Linked DNA regions of Homo sapiens: region 1 is linked to region 2. The links are contacts of gene promoters, found by promoter capture Hi-C in blood cells and fetal thymus (Javierre and others, 2016). All regions are on one chromosome and are shown on one strand. The core of a region is centred on a gene start or on the middle of the fragment in contact, and the rest is flanking DNA. Distances in the headings are between cores, read along the strand shown.

The links. Contacts are between HindIII fragments. The CHiCAGO score rates a contact against its expected background, and 5 or more counts as called.
Region 1: the fragment with the promoter of RBBP6 here is called in contact with the fragment with the promoter of GDE1 in region 2 in 1 of 17 cell types (non-activated CD4 T cells); the score reaches 5.3 in non-activated CD4 T cells.

What each region holds. Positions count from the first base shown.
Region 1 is chr16:24,537,672-24,543,183 of GRCh38, forward strand. RBBP6 (RB binding protein 6, ubiquitin ligase) reads left to right here and starts at 1,895. Exons shown (of 18, transcript NM_006910.5): 1 at 1,895-3,121. The coding sequence starts at 2,956. RefSeq lists enhancers at 1-131, 1,558-2,552, 2,553-3,545 and silencers at 1,842-1,891, 2,162-2,341. The HindIII fragment of the contact is 3,955 bases long and covers 1-3,490 here.
Region 2 is chr16:19,519,111-19,524,727 of GRCh38, forward strand. GDE1 (glycerophosphodiester phosphodiesterase 1) reads right to left here and starts at 2,988. Exons shown (of 6, transcript NM_016641.4): 1 at 2,594-2,988. The coding sequence starts at 2,854. It overlaps CCP110 (centriolar coiled-coil protein 110), which reads left to right and starts at 4,832. Exons shown (of 14, transcript NM_001323572.2): 1 at 4,832-4,978. RefSeq lists enhancers at 2,270-2,329, 2,455-3,189, 2,500-2,669 and a silencer at 2,780-2,949. The HindIII fragment of the contact is 7,297 bases long and covers 83-5,617 here.

The DNA.
Region 1 (5,512 bases), core at 645-3,144, 5.0 Mb after region 2:
TGTGGCCCACTTTGAGATCCCATGATGCACCACGCTGATTAAATTAGGCATTCAGTATATAAAGGGGTCGGCCACAGACGGGCAAAAGGAACAGATTCACCGCTTCGGAGTGAATTCCATGACGGCTTGCAATTTTCTCGTCGAGTTTTTCTTTCACTAGAGATAGCCCTCGCCCTTTCATTCACACAGAGGCTTTTAAGAAAAAAGCAACCAACCTGAAGAGGACCTGGCAGCAATAAGTTTTTGGTGAAATAACAAAGAGGTAAAAGTGGAAGAAACTTGTTATATATGAAAAGTACTGATGTGTGTGGTTGAGTTAAATTGTAATGGTATCTCTAGAGCTGCCCTTGACTACGGCCAAAATTTTATTGCCACGACATCTCTATGGATCACGTAAAAATGTATCCAGTTATTCAGCACGTATTTATTGAGCACCTACTATGTTCTAAGAGCTGAGGATACAGCAAAAACAAATATAAAGATAAGATTCCTATTGTCAGCCGAAGGTAGGGGTTGGGGGAGATAGATAATTAAAAAGTAAATGTGTAACTGTCAACTATCTGCAAGTGCTAGGAAGAAAAGACTAAAGGGATAGAGAAAGATCGCCATCTTATTTTAAAAAGATGGCCTTAGGAAGGCTTTTCTGGCAGGATGGTGATTAATTTTAAATCAAGTTCAGTAAGAATTTGGAGTGTGCTTGCAGGAAGTCCCTGGGAAACTCTGCTACTTCTCGGCTATAGGATCTTATTCTCAGTTGCCTAAATTCACTGAGCCTAGCCTGTAAAATTCAGAGAGGATGAGGAACATGGATTGTAAACGATAATAACTATCGTTTATGAATGTAATTTTATTATATTATGATTTTTTCTGAATGTAATAACGTCCCCATGCCCAAAGGAAAAAAAAAATTCCAATCTACTGAGGGGGTTCTTGTCACTGTTCCTGGCATTTGCGCTTAGGAATGGAATCGGGACCCTGCCACTGAGCAGGCATCCCCTTCTGCAAATTCAGAAAGTACATGATTGCTAGCTTCAGTTCCATCATCTATAAATCGGAAATAATGTCATGTTGACCACGTAGGGTTTTTGTTGTTAAATTGACATTTATTGAGCTACAGCTATTAATATTTCGGTGCATTGAGCCACGTCAATGCACCGGCATGGTCTTAGACTATGGATTTATGTGCATTTATTTAATCCAAGTAAACCAAGTACTATTTTTAATGGCATTTTACAGCCAAGGAGACCCAGGCACAGAGGGGTTAAATCTAGAGCCCCCACAGCCAGGGATCCAACCCAGACAACGTGGCTGCTGAGCCTGGCAATGTTGTTATGCGATCAGCCCTGTGCCTAGCACATAGTAAGAGCTCAATAAATCTGTATGGTGCTGGTGGCTGTTATCAGTTCTTGGCAGCGGCTGCTCCACGATTTCCACTTGTCAAGAGTATAGGGTAGCCAGTTTATTGGAAGCAGCAGCTAGGGAGCGCTTGCATAGCAACCATAGTTTTCTGCGTAGCAACCATAATGCTCACTTAAATTGGGAGGCTTAGAGGAGCTGACGGGGCCTGTGGGGAAGGGGGAGTTAGCCGGCCACCCCTAGGCAAGCCACTTTGCAGTGGAAACTGCACGCAGCCCCTGCAAGGCGAGCTCTCCCCACCGAGCCTCCCTGTGAGCCGGTCCTCCTGACGCGCAACCCCCCTCCCTTTTGAAGCAGATGGTTCTTCCCGTTGTCCCTGCTCTTTCAGTTTCCGCGCTTTGGAGTCACAAAGCGCGGGGTCACGTGGGCGGGCCGTGCGCTTTGTGACGTCAGCCGCCCCGCCTCTCGGCCCGCCTATCCGCGCACGCCAGCCCCGCCTCGCGCGCGCCGCCCGTGCAATCCCTGCTTAAGAGACCCCGCAGTGGGGCGCTCGTCCGAAGCCAGGCCGCGTCCGCCATAGTACCTGGCTTGGAGGTGTCGCCGCCGCTCGGTGAGAGCCCCCGAGCGGCAGGGGGCCAACACAAAAAGGGAGCCGGAGAAGCCCTAGCCGCTGCCCAGCAGCTTGCGGGCGTGTTCTCGCGGTTCCGGGCCTCAAGGCGACGGAAACGAAAGGCGAGCGAAGCGCGGAGGATCCGGCGAGAAGAAGCGTCAGGGAGCCTCGGCGGTGTCCCCGGGGTCCGCCGAAGCCACCCGGCCGCCGGCTGGGGCCCGGGGTGGTGAGGAAGTGCTCCGAGGCCTCGCCGAGGCCTAGCGCCGGCTTTGTGTCCGAGGCGGCGGCGGCGGCGGGGGGAGGCGGAGCCGGGGGCGGCCTGCGGGAAGGCCTCTCCTCCGCCGACCGCGCGTTTTCGGCCTAGGCCGTGGGGCCGCTCGTGGCCTCCGGGGAGCAGGCGCCAGGGGTTTGTGTGCGGTGGGGGCCTGGGCCTGGGCCTGGGGAAGCTGACGCCGGTCGTCCGGAAGCCAGGAGGAGGCGTGAGGCCGCTCGTGGACTCCGGGCCTAGGCCCTCTCCCCTCAACCTTCTCCCGGGGCCTGGGTCACCCCAATCCACGGAGAGAGAGACCCGCCGGGAGGTGCGGCCGCGCTATGGACCCCTGACCCCGTGGGGTCGCTCGGACTCTTAACGTGTGGACTGACCGCTACTGACTGCACCGCCAATCCCCCCGTCTCTGCCGGCCCCTTAGCATGAGCGAGGGGGACCCAGCCGGGTGACATTGTGCCCGTTGGCGGATTCTCGATTTCCCCTCTTCCCCGTCCTCGTCCTCCTCCTCCCCCATGAAGTGATTCTGAGTATCGGGGGGTCTCTGGATTATTGTTCTGACGAACCCCTGCTTGTGGTTGGGGGGTATTTAATCTGAGGCCTTAGGGTCCTTCGGTGTCTTTGAGTGTTTTGTGTGTACATATTTTGCTCTTAAAGTTTATAAATATACGTATATTGAGAGTGTCCACGTCTCCTCGCTGAACCTTAGGAATCCCTTGGCACCATGTCCTGTGTGCATTATAAATTTTCCTCTAAACTCAACTATGATACCGTCACCTTTGATGGGCTCCACATCTCCCTCTGCGACTTAAAGAAGCAGATTATGGGGAGAGAGAAGCTGAAAGCTGCCGACTGCGACCTGCAGATCACCAATGCGCAGACGAAAGAAGGTAAGGGCCGCTTGGTCTTAAGATATTTGGTGGCTGGAGAGAGATACTAGCTAGAAGGTGCCTGGCAGGAAGCTAACCGCCATTATGTCTCTAGTGGGGACTGTTCGTTCTAGTACTTTGGATACAACTTTCATTGATAGCCAAGGTTTGCAGCAGTTGGCCTTGGAGTTTCACTGGTTTATTTTATTTCTGCATACTTGGGTCATCTGTAACAGGCTAACCCAAAACGTGGAAGCCTGATTATTCTTCTCGCTGTTTTTTAAAATGAGGGAGGGAGGAGAGGGGGATAGCTATCTAGACTCTTTGAGTGCTTGTCTTAGGGCGTTTTCTAACTTATTTTCCATCAGGAGGGCAGGAGAGCCTGTGCAAAGCTTGTTTGTTCAATCAGCAAAAAAAAAAACAAAAAAAAAACCAAAAAAACAATTTTCTAACCTAACAACATTGTGGAGTTTGATGGCAAATTTTATGTCCTGCCTTCCTCCCTCCTCGCATTTATTTATTTGGAGTTGCTTGCCTGTGTTGTGGATAAGGGATCTGAACTTTAATATTTTTGAGGATTTAATCAGTATTGGAATTGTTTTTGGATCTTGAAATGTTCTGATGTCACCGCTCTTGTCTTGTGTGTCAATTCCAGAATTAGTAATACGGCAATTAAGTAGTTAAACTGTTAGTTCATCACATTACTCTTAAGCTTTATCAATTCGGTGAAGATCAAAAGTACTGATTTTTTTTAAAGTAGTAGTTGCTAGATTTTACGTGACTGTTGATACTAAGGTACTGAAAAATAGGCTGCTACCATAGAGTACAAATAAGCCACTGATAAGAATCGTTAGATTCTTTCTCCTTTTCAAAAGTATTTTGATAATATTGGGAACTTAACAGTAGATAAATGTGACAAGCAGTCTTTCCTGACTCTGAACTTGTTTTGGTTTCTTTTTCTCAGATCAGTAATGCTGATGTGTATTTTTTAGCAGTTCGGTGTTCTAAAAGTTACTGATGGAATGAGAAGAAGTGAAGTTACAATTAGGTTAGGGTATTTTTTTAGTCACTAAATTTTTATCACACTTAAGGTGTGACATGGATTCTTTTAGTTGAAATGGGAGGTCCCCCACCTCCAGCCTGTAGTTTAGGTAGAGTAAATCTTGTCATGTAGAAGACCAGTTTTCCATTTACAATGCAGACCTAAGTATAATTGTATTAGGTTAAGGAACAGCAGTGCTGGCATATCATGACTCAAAAATATTAAGGAAGAATTTATTTGCTCAAATGATATTATGTGAAAATACTGTCTGCTTCCCCACCTTTTAAAAACAAGTGTCATACCCTTTGATAATTGGAGCTATGTGTAATCCTCTGCCTAAGGAGAGGAAAAACTGGTGGTGGTCATGAACAGTTGAGAAATAGCTTTATTTAAGTGCCTCACAAGCATCCCTTAACTACAACAGTCACATTTCACAGAACAGATGGGTTTATAAGAAGTTTGGGCCATCTTGACATATTGAGTATTTATGAATGAGAGGAGAGACAATATGAATGGAATTAAAGGATATTAAGGCAATTTTAATCGTCATATATTCAGGTTTCATATTTTACTGGAGTATTACACAATCGAATCATTAGGGCTAGGCGTTATCCATCTTTTCGACCCAACAATTGAATGCAGCTTTTTTTTTTTTTTTCCCCTGAAACAGAGTCTCACTCTGTCACCCAGGCTGGAGTGCAGTGGCACCATCTTAGCTCACTGCAACCTCCGCCTCCCTGGTTTGAGCGATTCTCATGCCTCAGCCTCCCAAGTAGCTGGGACTACAGGCATGCGCCACTACACCCAGCTAATTTTTTTTTGTATTTTTAGTAGAGATGGGGTTTTGTCTTGCTGGCCAGGCTGGTCTCGAACTCTTGGCCTCAAGTGATCCACCCACCTGGGTCTCCCAAAGGGCTGGGATTACAGGCATGTGAATGCAACTTTAGACTGGGTAAGTTATAGTTAAAAGAATCCTGTCCGGAAATTTAAGAGTTTTGTGACTTTGTGTAACCAATTTTTTTTTCCTAGCCCAGGAAATAAATGATACGTAATTCAAACCCAGAAAGCCAGGAATGTGTTTTTGCCCAGCACATTTTCTTTTTTATATTTATGTGAACTGCCCTTTATTGGAGAAAGCTTTGATGTTCGGTTTGTTAAGAAAAGGGAGCTTTGAGGGAGAAAATGTGTATTTTATGCAGTCCTCAAATTAAGAGAGAAAGAGATATTGATGGTAGCTACTTAACTAGTTTTATGGGAAATAGTATCCAATGTCACAAGGCAGTTGAGTAGAATGCCATTTGGTTTTAGCACCGATATTCAACATATTTACTAAAGAAAACTATGGTAATCTTTTTATCACAGTTAAGGTC
Region 2 (5,617 bases), core at 1,738-4,237:
GGAACTTCTGACCAATTGGCTTCAAGTCCTCTTAGGTTTATTTTAGTTTTTATTTTTTTAATTCCTCTTAGGTTTTTATGGAAGCTTCATGATGTCAGCATTCCTTCCCCCAGGGTATAGGGTGGGGTCCCTCTCTGAGGAGGGTCTTAAGACTCACAATTTGAAAGACAGGGAAAGATTCCAGTCCTGCCTTGGGGTAGGTGAAAGGAGGGCAGGAGAGATTCTGTTTCCCAAGGCCTGCTCCTAAGGCCTAGGATGCCTAACAAAATACTGTAGCAAGGGCTGAGAGTTATGAGCCAGGAACCATGGATGAAAACCTATATATGTGTGTGTATGTGCATATATATATATATATATATATATACATACACAATACTTAATAGATTACAATATAGTGTAAACATAACTTTTATATGCACTGGGAAACCAAAAAATTTGTGACTCCCTTTATTACTATATTTGCTTTATTGACTATTTACTCAGGTCTGGAACTGAACTTGCAATATCTCCTATATATACTAATATGTGAATTAGAACCAGGGATTCATCTTTTTATCTCAATTACTGGAATAACATAGAAGTACTGGTAAAGCTGGCCAGGCAGTGGCTCATGCCTGTGATCCCAGCACTTTGCCTGTAATCCCAGCACTCTGTAATCCACTGAGGCAGGTGGATCACTTGAGGTCAGGAGTTTGAGACCAGCCTTGCCAACATGGCAAAACACCATCTCTACTAAAAACAAAAAACAAAAATTAGCTGGGAGTGGAGGAGTACATCTGTAATCTTAGCTACTTGGGAGCCTGAGGCACAAGAATCGCTTCAACCTGGGAGGTGGAAGTTGCAGTGAGTTGAGATCGCCCCACTGCACTCAAACCTGGGTGACAGAGAGAGACCCTGTCTCAAAAATAAATAAATAAATAAAATTATTGGTAAAGTCGAATGTATACATACATATATACATTTCTGACAGTGCTAGAATTTCTGGTAGATTATAAATGAGATATAGAAGGAAAAACTTGATAAATGTGAGTTGAGTGTATTCCAAAAACAGATACACTACTATAAACAGTGGCAAAGGAATGAAATTACACCCACAGTACATTCTCCACATGGGCCAGAGTGCAGCTTTAAAAGTATAAATCTTGGCCGGGCACGGTGGCTCATGCCTGTAATCGCAGCTACTCGGGAGGTTGAGGCAGTAGAATCACTTGAACCTGGGATACAGAGGTTGCAGTGAGCTGGGGTTGCGCCGATGCACTGTAGCCTGGGAGACAGTGAGACTTCGTTTAAAAAAAAAGAAAAAAAAAAAGAAAAAAAAAGGAAATGAGGGAGGCCAGGCATGATGGCTCATGCCTGTAATCCTAGTACCTTGGGAGGCCGAGGCGGGTGGATCACTTTGAGGCCAGGAGTTTGAGACCAGTCTGGCCAACATAGCAGAACCCCATCTCTACTAAAAATACAAAAATTAGCTGGGCGTGGTGGCACACGCCTGTAATCCCAGCTACTCCGGAGGCTGAGGCACGAGAATCGCTTGAACACGGGAGGCAGGGGTTGCAGTGCGTGGAGATTGCACCACTGCCCTCCAGCCTGGGTAAAAGAGTGAGACTCTGTAAAGTAAAAAAAAAAAAAAGAAGAAGAAGGAAGGAAGAAGAGAGAGAAAAATAAAAAAGAAGAGAATCAGATATATTTACACAGATGCAAAAGTGCCTAATCCACTGAAAAGCCCTCTCTGTAAGCTGTCATTATTATGAAGCTAGGAGAATGCCAAGAGCTGGGAGGTATCAAAAGTTTCAGGAGTGCCTTGTGAAAAGGAGGGGGCAGAAACTGATGTGAGTCCAGCTGCCAGGGTTGTGCGAGTGCGAATGTGTGTGTCTGGGGAAAAGGTGATAAGGAAATGACTCAAGTGATTTACAAGACAAGCAAACGTATGTCTTGTGAAGGGTGATCTATTTAGACTAACCTCAATTACTGACCAAGAACCTATTTGACCTGACCCATTTTCTACTTCATTCACACACCAGTCTTTGTTCTCTTCCTTGAAGTCAGGCCACACACTGCCTCTTCTGTTACCTGAACACCCCTATATTATTCCCATCTCAGGACCTTCTGCACCTGCCTGGCTCCTTATAATTCCGGTTTCTGTTCAAATGTTGCTTCTTCGGAGACGATTTCTCTTGACTATTCCATCTAAATAAAATAGCGTAACTCTTTCCTTCGAGTTCCCCCGATTTCTTCATTGCACCTTTCACTCTCTTAAAGTTATCTCATTTATGTGTTTACTTGTTTAAGGCTTGCCTCCCCCATTCCGATGTACACTCTGTAAACCAGGGACACTTTTGACCTTGTTCCTGGCTGTATGTAACCTTAGCGTCAGGCGCACAGAAACTATATACATATCTGCTGTCTTCTGTAAATATAAAACCTCAAGTCCGGAGATCCCTAGACACTGGGAGCGATCAAGGGCCGGGAGTGTGCCTTGTGGACGAATGAGGAAGTGGGAAGGCCGTCCTGAGAAGATCGGGGAACCCTGGGAAGGAAAAGTAGAAGTCCGAGCTCTCGGGAGGACCGAGGGGCGCGAACGTGGGGGTCTCACCTGCCGAATGGCCGCCAGCGTGTTCTCGGGCGCGTCGTGGCTGCCGCCACGGTGGGCGATGGCAGAAATGCGGTCCCGGGGCTTGAGCACCTGCAGGGCCCTGCAAGAGGGCACCGGCTCAAAGCTGAAGACGCGCAGTAGAACGAAGAGGCTGCCGGTGAGGAGGCAGGCATTGACCGGGCTCCGCGTCACCAGCAGCAGCACTAGCAGCAGGAAGGAGAAAGGGCCCAGGAGGCCGCCCTGGTCCTCCCACAGCCACATGCCGGCGCCCGCACCGGCACGGACGGGAGTCCCGGACCCGCCGGGCTCCTGGGGCAGTAGAACGAGAAGCGAGGGGGAGGGTCCAAGGCACCGGCAGCAGCAGGAACCCTCTGAGGGGACCAGCGCCGCACAATGGCGGCAGCAGACACATCCAGAGAGGGAGTCGGCCGCCCAGCCAATCAGGGATCGGGATTCGCAGCGCCAGTGGGCGGAGCCGCTCCATGGCAACGGGGGAGGGCCCAGGCCCCAGGCCCCAGGCTCACGTTCCAAATCTAAGGTGGGTTAGGGTTTTCCGAGGTCTGAACTTCAACCTGGGCGTTCAGACTCCTAGGCGAGAAAAGGAGGGATAAGAACCATCCTAAAGCTGTAGGACTGGAAGGGATTTTAGTGACTCCTTTATCTGCCCTTGAGGAAACTGAATTCCAGGGAACCTGGAGAGGCAGGATGCTTAGACTATCAATTCAATTCAATTCAATTCAGTTCAGTTCAGTTCAATTCAAGATGTGCCAAATACCGGTCCAGGTGCTCCGGACACAGTTGAACAGGACCTACAGGGTTTTTGCTCTTATGGGATTCACATTCTTGTGGGAGGAAATAAAAGTTAGCAAGTACACCTAACGTTTACAGAGCACTTACCATGTCCCAGGTACTTGACGAGCAAACACTTTATATGCTTATCTCATTCTCAATACAGCCTAACAGTTACTATCAGGAGACTGATTTCAATCGACTTTATTTTCCAGATTCTGGGGGACTGGAAGAGCCTAGCAAAGAAGGCACAATCGGATTATAAAACTGGAAGGGGTTTTAAGGATTCCCTTATTTCATAGATGCGGAAACTGAGGATAGGTGAATTAAGCAGTTAATGGCAGGGTGGGGACTGACATAAAGGCCTCCCCAGTGATTTGTGACATTTTCACTCCTCCTCCCCCTAATCTTACTTCTGCTAAGGGCTTTTGTACCAGGCACTGTACAGGAGTTACCTCAACTGTGCCTCACAACCACCCTTGTGATAGGCACTTTTAAAACCCCCATTTTACATATGCAAAAACAGGCACTGGAAGGAGGGTAAGAGAGATAGACCATGAAGCCGAGTTAGGGAGTGAAAAGGGGCCCCTGGACATATTTTGGAGGGCTGGTAACATTTTTATGTAGAGAACTTTGCAAAAATATTCAGGGATTTTTCTGTTACCTTTTTTTCCTTTAGTGCATTTTCCCACTGATTTGCAAAAGGGGATAGATGTCTTAAGCCTTCCAGTTGGCATCTAGGATTCAGCCTTTTTTTTTTTTTCTTTCAGACAGTCTCACTCTATCGCCCAGGTTGGAATGCAGTGGTGCAATCATGGCTCACTGCAACGTCGACCTCCTGGGCTCAAGCGATCTTCCGACCTCAGCCTCCCGAGTAGCTGGGATCACAGGCTCGCGCCACCCCACCCGGCTAACGTTTAAAATTTTTGTAGAGATGCCGTCTCCCTTTGTTGCCCAGGCTGATCTCGAACTCCTGGGCTCAAGCGATCCTTCCGCCTCGGCTTCCAAAATGTTGGAATTATAGGCGTAAGCCATCACGCCCGGTGGGTTCAGCAAGTTTTTACCTACAAGAAAATATTTTGGTGAATGTTACATGTTTTCTAACGGCTGCATAGAAAGGGGTTATCTTTATACAGATAAGAAAAAAATGGCAACTTCAAGGAACACTTCAGGGGGCTTCAGACCCTGAGGGGTGTTCCTATTCTACTAAATAAGTAAATTTATTAATAAATTCTAGTCTCTAGCTTGCAAGGAAGACTACGTTTCCCGGCGTGCAGCGTGCTGGCCGTAAGCATTACGTCCTCCATCGCGGGCGCGCAATGCACCTCGGGGATGGTAGTGTTCTGGTGGCCCAACGGTTTTAACAGCCCGGGAATCAACCACCGGAAGTGCCGGCCCTGAGAGGTGGAGTCGGGGTGGCAGCGGCGGCGGTTGCCAGGAGCCCGCGTTGCAGCCTGAGATCCGTAATATGGCGGGGAGGAGGAGGAGAAGGCGGCGGCGGACCGAGCTGCGCTCTGTCAGTACCATTTGAGCCATTCGCTTCCTGACAAGGCCCGTGGCGAGGGGAGAGGAGCTGAAGGGGCCGTGGGGGATCAGGTGTGTGCATGAGGAGGGGGCTTGAGCCTTGACGGGTCCGGGCTGAGAGGTGGTCTGGCGAGGCGAAATTGGCGCCCTGAGAAGCTGAGGGCGGGCTCTGTGCTGGGCTCCCGGGCCTCGAGCCCCCTGGAAAGGCGCCGGCTGTTGGGAGGCGGGACCCCGGGGGCAGCCAGCACCGGGCGCTGAGGTGATGCTCCGATGCTGGCCCCGCCTGGAGGGCCCTCGGTTTGGAGTCTTAAATCGGAGGAGCTGGAGGAGGTGGGCATGGGGCGCTGGGGAGAGGGCAGGGGGCCGTCCCTGGTGAATAAAACTCGGGCCAGAGCCGGAGAACCCCATCGTGGTGATCAAATTGTTTGGGCCGTTTTTCTTCTCCCTCCCACGGTGCTGGAGAGGGAGGCTTCCCCGGGGTGTGCATTGGCCATTTATGAGCCCCTGTTTCCACAACCAAGGCCCTAGGAGCGCTGCTTACTTCGCCTTTGCCACTCTGGGGCATAAACTTGAGGATAATAAAGTAATCGATTGCCCCTGGAGCTGCTAGATGGTTCCCACCCTTTGATTCTATTCTGGTTACGATCCAAGCTCCCTACCCCCAGTTTAGGCAAATGGCAGCCATCTCGAGATTGATTTGACGGGGAGAGG